2 separate regions of the Homo sapiens genome follow, and region 1 is linked to region 2. Evidence: promoter capture Hi-C in 16 types of primary human blood cells and fetal thymus (Javierre and others, 2016). All regions are on one chromosome and are shown on one strand. Each heading gives the region's core, a stretch centred on a gene start or on the middle of the fragment in contact. The rest is flanking DNA. Distances are from core to core; before and after follow the strand shown.

Region 1 (6,121 bases), core at 1,856-4,355, 570 kb before region 2:
CATGAGACTGGTGAGTCATGCATAGGAATGGACAGAGGATTGTGAAATCCATCTTCAACTACAGCTTCAGAGCATGCCATTGAGTCACTTCACCTTAATTAAATCTCAACTCCCACTCCTCCATTGGAACCACAAACTGACCTTCCAATCTGTAGGACTCTTCTTGTCAAAATTCTGTTTCTTAATACAGTTCAATCATTGTGAGTAGCTGGATCAATCTTTGCAGAATTGTATATCAAGAAGCGGTAGTAATATATGTTCACATCCTGGACAGCATTAATAGTCATAAAAGCAAATTAAATAGAAATTCTCCTTTTATCTTAATTGAAGCCAGACATTGTACAATGTCAGATATTGTACAACATCATATATCATACAAGTCAGATATTATAATCGTAATATCTAAGTCAGATACTATTTAATATTTATACAATATCAAAATGATATGGATTAATATTTCTTTAGTTTCTAAGCATGTGCAGTATTTTCTCTGGAGTGAGGTAATCCCAGCACATATTTTTCAAGCATTGAAGGCTGCAAAAAGTAATAATGTGAGTAAAGTCGAAGTAGTTTTCATTTGACCCTCATAGGACAAGTTTTCCTTTCCAATGAGAGTTTTAAATTAGCTTATGGAAAAAAGAAGAAAATGGACAAATAAGTTAGAGATAAACTTAATCTGAGAATAAGTTTAAAACATACAGGAACCAGTCATACCACTAAGATGTGCAGACTTGTCTTGACATTCATAGCTGCAGCCTCTGCAGACACAGGAATGGCTAAGACTCCTTTCATAACAACCTGTGAGAGTACACCAGTGCCCAGAGGCACATACACGAAAAGAAGGGAGAAATGGCTTACATCTCTTCTATGGATACAGGGTTGGTTTTTTAAGTTTCTATCAAGATTTTTAGAAAATCACTATGAATTATTTTTTAACATGTTTGTTGGAAATTTTGCTAAATATGAGTACATACCTTCATACTTTATTAAATATCAGGCACAGAATATAATTCAATGCATTCTTGATAACTCAGAGCCACTACCATAAAAGTTAATGAACATACTGGGCTTCGTGACATTCTGCATATTTTCTGTTTCTTTTCTTATTCACAGGTAGTCACTGAGGCTACCAGTTCCACTTCTTGGCATTTGCTACTTTTGCTCGAAGTTGATGTGAGAATACTGATTTATAAGACTACTAGATTTGTACAATATTTATGATTCAATAAACTCTAAATAGAAAACACAACAAAACATAAGCATGACTTTTTTCCATAAAGTAAGAGGATTTTGTTGGCCAACTCTGTGGCAGTTATTTCAGCAGCGTCCAAGAACTCTTTTGTGTACATCCTGAGTGACCTAGAGTGTGTATTCAGGATGTCTGAGGGATACAGATGGTTGAGAATAATAGACAAGTGTGGGTTATAAAGTATAACATCACAGCCAGGCATGGTGGCGGCTCACACCTGTAATCATAGCACTTTGGGAGGCCAAGCGGGGTGGATTGCCTGAGCCCAGTTCGAGACCAGCCTGGGTAACACGGTGAAACCCCGTCTTTATTGAAATACAAAAAAGTAGCCAGGCATGGTGGTGTGCTCCTGTAATCCCAGCTACTCGGGAGTCTGAGACAGGAGAATCACTTGAACCCGGGAGTCGGAGGTTGCAGTTAGCAGAGATCGCGCCATTGCACTCCAGCCTGGGTGACAGAGCGAGACTCCATCTCAAAATAAATAAATAAATACATAAACAAAGTATAACATCACTATCCCATGAGGAAAGCTCAGAGCATGGTATGAATGGACCAATATTATGGCCCATAGAAATGTATCATCTTTCTGCACAGTCTTCTTTCTGTGACAATATTAACATTTACACCCAAGAATTTGAATTAATAGTTAACTTCCTTAATTGAGAGAAAACTTTTTTTTTTGGTGCTTACAGGCTTTAAGCCTCAACAAACTCGATAAAAATTCTTATTCTATATAGTCTTTCATCTGAACCCACTCTTCAAATTATTTAAAAAGCATGTGTGAGTGTGGTGTGAAGTGTGACCATCCAACAATCAAAAACCCTTTTTATTTTTTAAGCTTCTTCTATCCAAGGTCCTGATATTTGTGACTCATGAGCAAAAAAGGTGTTTCACTGGGTAAGTTTGGTTTCCAGTGTTAATAACAGAAAGATTGGTGGCAAAGAAAATGTAACATATTAAGCAGAAATATTAATCATCATAACCTGATTCTGGTTCCATGAGCCAGAATGAATAACCTGATAAGGAGGAAGGCGGTCACATCTCACCTCCTGCTGGAGACACAGTGCCCTGCAGCTGAGGTCAGTTGGACCTGGGTTAGAGTCTCAGTACCACCAACTCACTAATGGGGAACATTTAAAGAACAATACTTAGCCTCTTTGAACTCCAGTGTCTTAATTTGTAAAAAGTACAAAAAGACCTACCTTACAGAACTGGTTGCATTGCTCTGAAGATTTACATAGATACAATGCCTGACACCTTCCTTTCACCTTTTCCCTCCTTCTAGTCACAACCATGTAGCTGCTTCTTAATGGCTCCATAGATTACACAGATTCTTGCCTTAGTCTTCTGTGTCCTCAGGTGCTGGGCACTTGAAGGTACTCATTAAGCATTTGCTGTGTTCCAATACTGACATGTCCGTGACAATTCTTTTTGGACTTTTAATCATTCTTAATAAACTGAGCAGCAGGATCTTCTGGTATATTTTACTTATTATATCAAGAGCCTTTGCTGGCTGGGTAAACAGCAGAGCACAGATCTGGGCTCTGGAGAGTTACAAAAGAGGGGCAAAACACCAAACACCATCCCTACCTTCAAGGAGTTTATAAATAAATGGAAAAAAGAAGTCACATGAAAAAAATATTTAACTCTACACACACCGGAAGGCAAGAGGATCCAGACAGAAAACTGAATCCAGGGTAAGAATGTAGGGTAGGATTCAAGGCTGGGCGGAGAGAAGGTGGTTTCTGGATTATTATGAAGCAGTCATTGTCTGAACTGTGCACCACACTTAGGTTTCTTTAACAGTCTCAGGCTTGCTGTGGACACTGTGCTTTTCAGAACACTTTTTTTTTTCAAATGTAACTATATACACAAATATGTGCTATATATATATATATATATAAAGAACAATACTTAGGCTCTTTGAACTCCAGTGTCTTAATTTGTAAAAAGTACAAAAAGACCTACCTTACAGAACTGTTGCATTGTTATGAAGATATATATATATATATATATATATATATATATATATATATATATATATATAAAATCTCCATATATAAGGGAATGCACTACATAAAAGTAATTATAATTAAGCTATTGTGTCTAGAGTTACGGGTTAGGTACCTAAGGAGTATACTTGAGCCTGTTTCGTTTCTATCCTAATAGAAATTTATAGATCATGAAAACTTAGTTTTGTCATCTGAGAGTCATCCTGGAAGGGAGATCCCTGAGGAGGCAATTCCACTGTTTCCCCACTATATTCTCTACTGTGCTGCTCTATTAATCATTTCAAAATTCATTACTCAAAACTTTTAATGGGTAAAATTCCAACAGTTCTAGGATAGAATTTAACATCATTTGTAATGTCTCTGACTTGTGTTTCTGTCTTTTCCTACAAGTCTTCACTACCCTTCTAACACTCCACCATATTGGGCTGTTTGCTGGGTTCCAAATATGCCATACATAAAATATGCCAGGCTCTAGTTATGCCATATAGCTTTACTTTTAAATTTCATCTTTATTTCAATACCGACATAGGTTTGAGAATCTTTGTAGTTCCGGTGTTGCTGGAAAAGGGGTCCTGATCCAGACCCCAAAAATGGGTCCTTGGATCTTGCAAAGGAGAGAATTCAAGGAAAGCCACAGAGCATAGTGGAAGAAGTAAGTTTTTCAGAAACCGTTTCGTTACAGTGTGGGATATCCTCTGAAAGCAAAAGGAGGAATGCCCTGTCCTTTGTTAGCGCCTCTACTTTTATAAGGAGTTACAAAGAGCTACAATTAAACTTGGAATGTGTCTATGTGCTCACTAAAGGCAGGGGCCTTCAGTGTCATTGATATTACATGACCCTTAATCTTTTAACCTAAGCTTGTTCATTAACGTTATCTCTAAGTAAGGAGGGCTGAATTCTTAGGACATAGGGACATTCTGCAGGCATGGTGGGAGATGCTCTGTATGGTCATAAATATTCTGTAATAATAGGTTGTAGCCAGCTTGGAAAGTGGCTATTTTCAGACCACAAGCATTAATCTTATAGGTGCCTTAAGAGTGTTCTAGCTCTTCACTTCAAGATGGAGTCATTCTGGTCATACTTCATTAGACCAGAGGCCTAGTAGGCAGGGGTTCCTTCAACATCTGGAGTACATTTCCTTCCCCATTTCCATTCTAATTCACATGCTACCTCTACTATAATGTTTTCGTCAAACTCTGCCCTATTCAAAAAATGGCTTTACTCATATGGCCAACTCAGCACATATCACATTATTTACAGCTATGTATCCACCCTGCCCTTAGAAGCAAGGATCATAGTCCTATTTTCAAAGTTCCAGCAGAAATGATAGTACCCAGTACACCAACAGGAACGGAATTGGTGTGACAGTTGTATCAGTTAGCCACAGCATTCCATGAAGAACATCGAAGGAGATCTCTAAAATAAAGTATTACCAGTAATCTTTGATTATTAAGCCTCTTCAAGGGGACTAACTACAATTAGCCTCTTGATGTAGACATTTAGAGAACCATCATATTATCCAAATGACTCTCATAAAACTTTCAAATGGATGTAATCTCATTTCATTTCATTGTGTGAATATATGAGATAGATATTAATATATTGGAAAAATGAGAGAGCAATCTTGCAATGATAGTAAAATAGACAAGTGCCCAGGAGCTAATAGGCTAAAGTTAAACCAAAACAGAGGTAGGTCAGTGCCATAGAAAACAGGTAAGTCACACTTCTAAGAGTCAAGAAAAATCCAAAAAGATCTAGGAATCATGTTGAAATACAAGTTGCTTTTGGATCATCAGTGGAGAGTTTCTTTCAAACTCGGGTTTAAACTATACCAAGGAGACATTCATCTATACAGGATATATAGGATATCCTATACATACATAGGAATATATATATTCCTATATTATATTATACAGGAAAAAAACTTTCCAATATTGTAGGCTGTGAAACAGGAGCAATTACAAAGTAAACTCACTAGTCAAGAGAAAAATACCAAGCAGTAGGTTAGATAGAATTCTGAATGCAATTATCTCCACAACACACTGCCAGATGGCTACCAAAGAATAATGGTCCCATCTGACTTTTGTAAGAAACAGGGAGGAGACAAATTTTAGGCAATGCTTTCCCCATGGAAGTTAAAAACGGAAGTCTAAATAGAGTTCTAATAATGAGGAATACTACTACTAACGACCTTGGAGGTTTTTCCTAGCATAAGAAACCGTGTCATCTGCACCCATTTCTGGAAAAATGAGTAAATATATCTTTATATAGTTCTCATAATCTTCTGTTCATAAAGTTCAAATTGTTTACTCTTGAAACATACTCATAAATTGTTTACATCACCAAGAGTTCTTAGCTTTGGGGCTGTCTAAATTTAAATATTATATTCAAACAATCAAAATGTTTTACACTGATTTACTAATTAAAACAAAGAAAAAAGACAAGACACTTTGTATCACAATTTAAAATGTGCAAGGAAGTTAGGATAAATATTTATTTCCACATAACATTTCTTAATTGTGAAAAACACAATATCCTAGTCACATTTACACATTATTTAAACTTGGCACTAAATTACATTCAAGATATTTAGTAATTTTGACCAGGAATCTGAAATTAGAAGTAAATATATAATACTACATTTTTATTATATTTTATATGATTTCAAAATATTAGGATTAACATAGGGATAGCTTTAAAATTCACACAAGAACAAAATGACTATAAAAATACTCAGAAATACAGAATTTCATTGGATATGATTGCTTATTCAAATAGGTGATCATGTGAAGATTTAAATTCACTATGATCATTTTTAACAAAACAGTTATTAATATATTAAAACACTAAGAGGCTGCTT
Region 2 (5,711 bases), core at 395-2,894:
AGTCATTGGCCGATCGTTTTAAAAGTCGCTCGAGCCAGTCCACAAAGGCTTTAATTAATCATTCTCACCTAAATAAGTGTCAAGAAAATGTGTTAATTGGAAGGACTTGCCTTGCACATTGGTGTCCGCTTTGCCGCAAGGAACCCATTTGCCTCCTTGAAACCTCCAGTGATTGGGATCCGCCAAAATCACATCCACAAAAATATTGTAATGAGCCGTGGGATCGAGACCAGAAATGTTAAAACTTAAAAAAGGAAACATGCGCCTATTTAAATTAAGGGGTGGGGGGAGAAAACAAGGAAAAAAGAAACATAAATGTTAAAGATTAAATGCAAGAAGCGGGGCGCCAGTTAGCAAAGCAAAACTTGTACTTGCAGCAAATAGGCGAATATTTGCTGGATTAGAAAAAGGGTGGTGGGAGAAGAAAAGAAGTGCAACCCAAATCAGGGAGAGCGGCGGGTGAGCTGGAGTGGGAAGGTGGCAGTTATCACTGCCCAGGTGGAGAGCGAGGTTGGCGACCTGCGTCTCCACCTGTCCGTGCATGCCAGTGTTGATGCGTCCCTCCCATCGCCCAGCCGCTGGCCAGGGCTCTTCCTTTTTCTTGCCTTCCTCTGGCCACTGACTGGCTCTCCCACTATGTTCCTAGAACGGGGTCCCCCCCACCAACATCACCCTGGCGGTTATCCCTTCCACTTTCCCCCTTTCCAAAACTAGCCAACTCTAGGGCGCCTTCCACTCCGCTCCCGACCCCAAATCGTCGCTGCCGCGGCAGTCACAGCCTAGGTGCACTTGTCCCCGGCTGCGCCTAGAGCAGCGGCAGCCAAAAATGTAGTATTACCTTCCCTGTTTGGTGATGATCATCTCCGTTTGGTGCCGGTGAAATTTCAGCCAAAGGGGCCTGTTGCACAGGTACACCTGTGCTTTGCCGGGCACCAGCCCCGGCTGGGTGGAGGAGAACTGGTAGAACGGAGCTCCTTGGTAGGAGTGGCCGTACTGCTGTGGGTAGGGGTAGCCGGCCGTGGGGTATCCCTGCGGCGAGGAGTTGGACAGGAGGCTGTTGTAGGCTCCGTTGGTGATGACCGGGTGGTGGGCCATGTAGCGGCTAGGGCTGCCGATGGAGAAGGCGGGGTGCGCCGGTCCGTGCTGGCCGGGGTACGGGAACATGGCACTGGGAGCAGTGGCCGCAGACTGTGGCTGGCTGGACTGAGAGAGGAGGTAGCGATCTGCAGCAGAGCCATCGAAACTGTGACGAAGCTCAGAGACCCCGTCCAAGACAGGAGAGAGTTTACTTCTCTGGACGTCCCCTGGTGAGTCCTTGGAGTCAGGAAAATTGTCTGTATCTGACTGATTCGTCATCCCCCTGGTAATTTTTTTCAAAGGTGAACTTCTCTCCAGGTTGTCAGTGGTCGAGATAATGGGATGATCGTGCAAGACAAGCTCGGATCCGCCTGAATGTGGGTAGCTGCTGCTCACATTGAGAAATTTCTTGGAGAGCATGATAGAAGGAGAAAGGCAGTGCTCCAGCTGCATAGCTCTAGAACCTGAACACTCGCCCTCCCGTCCCTGGTTTTTAAAGTCCTATTTATCATAAACTAGAAATCCACAGACCCCCTCACTAGACAGAAAGCACTTCAACCAGCAAATGCTTCTCAAAGGTTTGATTTACTTTTTTTTTTCCCTGGGAGAAGAGATTGGCCAATTGACACTATGCAGCAATCAGAAAAGGCTCACTTTTGATCTTGCTGCTTGTGCAGCCGATGAAACGGCTCCTGCCATTGGTTAGCTGCTGACAGTAATTTAATTAGATAGACATTAATTAGGATAATCACCTGGCTCCTGGTAGCGACGATCATGGCAAATTGAAGGGGATGATTTTATTGTTGGCTTGGGGGGTGGGGAATGTGTGTTGGTTTACGTGAGCACTGTTGTGTCACCTTTAAGCTCTGTGACCACTGCTTTAGGAAGATTCAAAGATGTGGAATTTACTAAACATTTCCTACCTTCCCCCCCTTCCCCCCTTTAGAGCGGAGGGGCGGAGGAGGGAATTCGACGATGCTAGGAGACTTTTCGGATCTGAATGAGCCAAATATTCAGTTGAATGTAACGATTTCAAGTGCAAAGTATACAAAGCGCGAGCCGGTGGCCTCTTCTCGCCCTGTAAAAGTTCCAGAGTCTGTCTTTTCCAGCTAATACAAAAGCACACAACACCTGAGCTGGTGCTTTGTGAGCAGATCCTACATGTCCTCGGCGCCCCCACCCCCACCTTTTAAACTGCAAACATAAATAAATAAATCCCTGCTGCTGAGAGCCACAGCGACAAGCAGAAGGGGGGAGGAGAGGGGGCGAAAAGCAGCAACTCACCCACCAATCCACCCACCTCAGGAAGGTTCGGTTTCTTGGTTGAGTACAGAAACAGTGACAATCTATGATCTCCTTTTTAAGTTTTGAAATAATCATAAGCTGTCGGGCTGAAATGCCTTAATGTATTTGCAGTGATGTTTACCGGCTCTTTATTAAATATTTTATCAGCGCACTTGGTTGCAGATTATCTGAAGAACATCTAACTGGGGGCAGGCGCCATGCATCCTTCTCGTCCCTCTGCATTTCCTTCTCTCTGAGGTACTGGCTTGGCGACAGGTTCAAAAGCCTCGCCAGGAAAAGAGAGGGCCGAGTCCCCGTGCAAATGGGCTCGTCAGAAGCGCTGATCTGGGGAGACAGAGTGGAAGTGGTGTCAACACAGTAATCGCTACTGAAAACGTGTGTGTGTGTGTACGTGTGTGTGTTTAATGTTTATATAATCTGGAGGGGAGAAAAAGCATCCATGCCAATAATTTTTAAAAGGAAAAAGAATCTAAAGAGGAATAGAAAAAAACCAATTTAAAAAGATGTTGGCACAAATAAATAGCACGAGGCCCGAAGAGACCCCGAGGTGTAGGGAGGAAGTCTCCCAGCACCGGCTCTACAGAGGAGCCCAGCCCTCGGCCTGAGCCAGAGGGCCAAGAGCGGCAGAGGCTTTTTATCTGCCCAAAGCTGCCTCCCGCGGCCCGGCGCTCGCTGACCTGCCCTCCCGCGGCTTTCCTCCCGGACGCCGAGCCGCGCGGGAATGAGCAGGAGGAGCGCCGCCCAGAGCTCCGCTCGGCCCCGAGAGCTGGCCGGCCCGAGGGCGGGCTCCGCCCGGGAGACTGAAGGAGCAAGGGGTGAGCTGCGTCTGGCGCAGACCCCAGGGGCACACGCTCTTCCCGGGCTGGAGGAGCGGCCTGGGCACCTCAGCCGGGGGAGCCTCTGGCTTCGAGCGAGCGCGTCTGTCCTACCCGGGCCGGGGCAGCTCCCGGAGTGAGAGCAGCGCCTGGGGACATTGGGTGGGTCCTGAGCATGGGCGGAGACGGGTTATCCAGACTCGCCGCTTCGCCACTGTGGTGCATTTTCAGAGCTGCGCCTCGGTGGGCCGAGCGGTCAGCGCTGAGCCGAGACTGCGCCCCTCCAGGCGGGCTGAGCGCCTTGGCTGCAGAGGGCACCAGCTGCGGCCTCCATCAACGCGCCGCGGGCAAGGCCCTGCGCTGGCGGCCTGGGCAGGGCAGGTTGTTGACCAGATGTCCCAGACTAAAGCCGAGACAATTTTCTGGGATAAAAAGAGAGCCAGACCCATTTTTCCTTTCGAAAGCAAACCTCAGCTCCTGGCCAGGAAGCTTCATAAACAAGCAGTCTTAGCTGTTGAATCGTTGGGGTGCGGGGGAGGGGAGTAGGGGATGCCATTTGACACTTGTTTTTCTGCCCTTGACCTTCTACTGCCATTTGCCCTCATGAGAGGCTTTTGACCTCTTGACTACTTTTGGCTACTTTTGTTTCCTTCTTTCTCCATCTTCAACTTCTCTGTCCCTGAGTGCCTCTCCCTCCGGTGCTTCGGAAGACAGTACTTTCCTCCGTTCTCAGTGGGACAGAGCCTTAAATGTGTAGAGGTGAGACATCACCTGGGCTCTTTTTGAGGCTTTGCCATTCTCGACACCCTAAACTGTTTTTTTTTTATGCTAAATTGAAATGTTAAGGTGTTAAAGGATAGAAAAGGGAAAGAGTGCACCTCCTTCAGAGTTTTTAAGGAATTGAATTGATGTGCTCTCTGACCCACTTTGGATTATCAGTACCAAATTCAGTGATTGCTCACATATAGGGTATGCCTTGAATTTATATATACTAAGGAAAATGAAGGCTTTCCTCAGAATCACCACATGTGCCTGTGAACCGTACTTCTAAAAGAAGGCCAGGGCTTCTCAAACCTTAAAGTGTATATGAACCACACCAGGATTCTTTATTATGATTCAATAGGCCTGGGGTGGGGCTTGCTTTCTGTATATATAACGAATTTCCATAAGACCCAGATGCTATTGGTCCAGGCAGATGACACTTTGAATAGTGAGGCCGGAGCTTTCAGTGCCCCCGTATTAGTCTGAGAGAAAAGCAGGGACATTTCTGCACTAGAGACAAACAGTTTTGTTTCCAGAGCTGCTTTACCTCTGCATGATGGAGGGGTAATTGCGTGCACATGTGCGCGCATACATATACAGTCTTAAACAGCTTACTAAGTTTGTGATTAAATGCATCTTTTCAGTGCCTAACTGGGCCTGGGACATCAGGCTGCTGCGAAAATAGCTGTACATTCCAAGACAAAGGTGTTCACTGAGCCTTGCCTCTTAGGGCATCTTGATTTTGATCGACTCCAAATCTACAAAAAGTAATGTAGGTTTTTGCTAGCAAAGATTTTGACAAGGTTCTGAAACTGGGAATGTCACCAACATGAACTAAGTGAGAGTAAGTGGTGTGTGGCTATAGGGAGTCCAGGAAGATGGGGTGATCAAATAAGGGCAAAAAAACAGGCAAGGTAAGCCTTTCCAGTCACAGGACTCAGGATATTTTCAGAGGACTAAGTAGAAAACAAAAACAAAAACAAAAAAACCCTTTCAACCCAAATATTGAGAATAGTTCTTGAAATGTTAAGGCCTTCTTCTGAGGGCACTGTACCCCCCAAAAAATCATTGACTAGCACTCATTAACAACATCTGTGAAATAAGTTATAGAATCTTATTTGCAAAGGGAAAAATCATATCCAAAAAGCCTGCACACAAGTTTGAATTAGGCAAAAGAAAATTTCACTAACTTCCACTTATATTTGAATTTTAAATGGTTAAATGTAATCCCAACAACTTAAATTAATACATATTACATGTCCTACATAAAATATACTGTCACTATATCTGAAACAGTAAACCACAGGACAAGCAAGAAATGCTCAGAATACTTCTTACTCCACCAAAAAAGATACTGTGAAACATACTGGGAATTTAAGCCATTTTGACTTTCAGTTTCTGGTAACTTCACTAGGGAACCAATAAGAGCCTAGACTTGTTCCAGTAGGACAGTAATTTGATCTATCACAGCACTCATAACAGTTCTAGTAGGTTAAGTTAAATTGCAAGTCCATGTAAAACATTCCTTTAATGAAGCTACAGTAATACTCTCACCATATTTTCACAAGGGTGCAGACTAGAATTAGATCTTTGTCTCTGTATCTTTTGCCATACAAATGGTATAATCAGTATGGTTCTGAACCGTAAGTAATAACAGGGGCAGTTACTTTTGTACATCACATTAGAAGTTGGTATTAGCCATTTTTTTTTCTCTATTAGAAAACTGGGTAGTCCTAATTTAGAAAAGATGAG

What was found. The method cuts DNA at HindIII sites, captures the fragments that hold promoters and counts their contacts. A CHiCAGO score of 5 or more calls a contact.
Region 1: a contact is called between a fragment that was not itself captured here and the fragment with the promoter of TBR1 in region 2, in 1 of 17 cell types (M1 macrophages). The highest score is 5.9, in M1 macrophages.

The regions. Positions count from the first base shown.
Region 1 is chr2:161,984,872-161,990,992 of GRCh38, reverse strand. It overlaps SLC4A10 (solute carrier family 4 member 10), which reads right to left. Exons shown (of 27, transcript NM_001178015.2): 27 at 5,723-6,121. Among named protein-coding and RNA genes, the nearest start is that of DPP4, 86 kb to the left of the region's middle. The HindIII fragment of the contact is 2,031 bases long and covers 2,090-4,120 here.
Region 2 is chr2:161,412,230-161,417,940 of GRCh38, reverse strand. TBR1 (T-box brain transcription factor 1) reads right to left here and starts at 1,644. Exons shown (of 6, transcript NM_006593.4): 1 at 839-1,644; 2 at 111-265. The coding sequence starts at 1,530. RefSeq lists enhancers at 896-1,518, 3,280-3,429 and silencers at 2,940-2,989, 3,060-3,229. The HindIII fragment of the contact is 4,993 bases long and covers 1-3,688 here.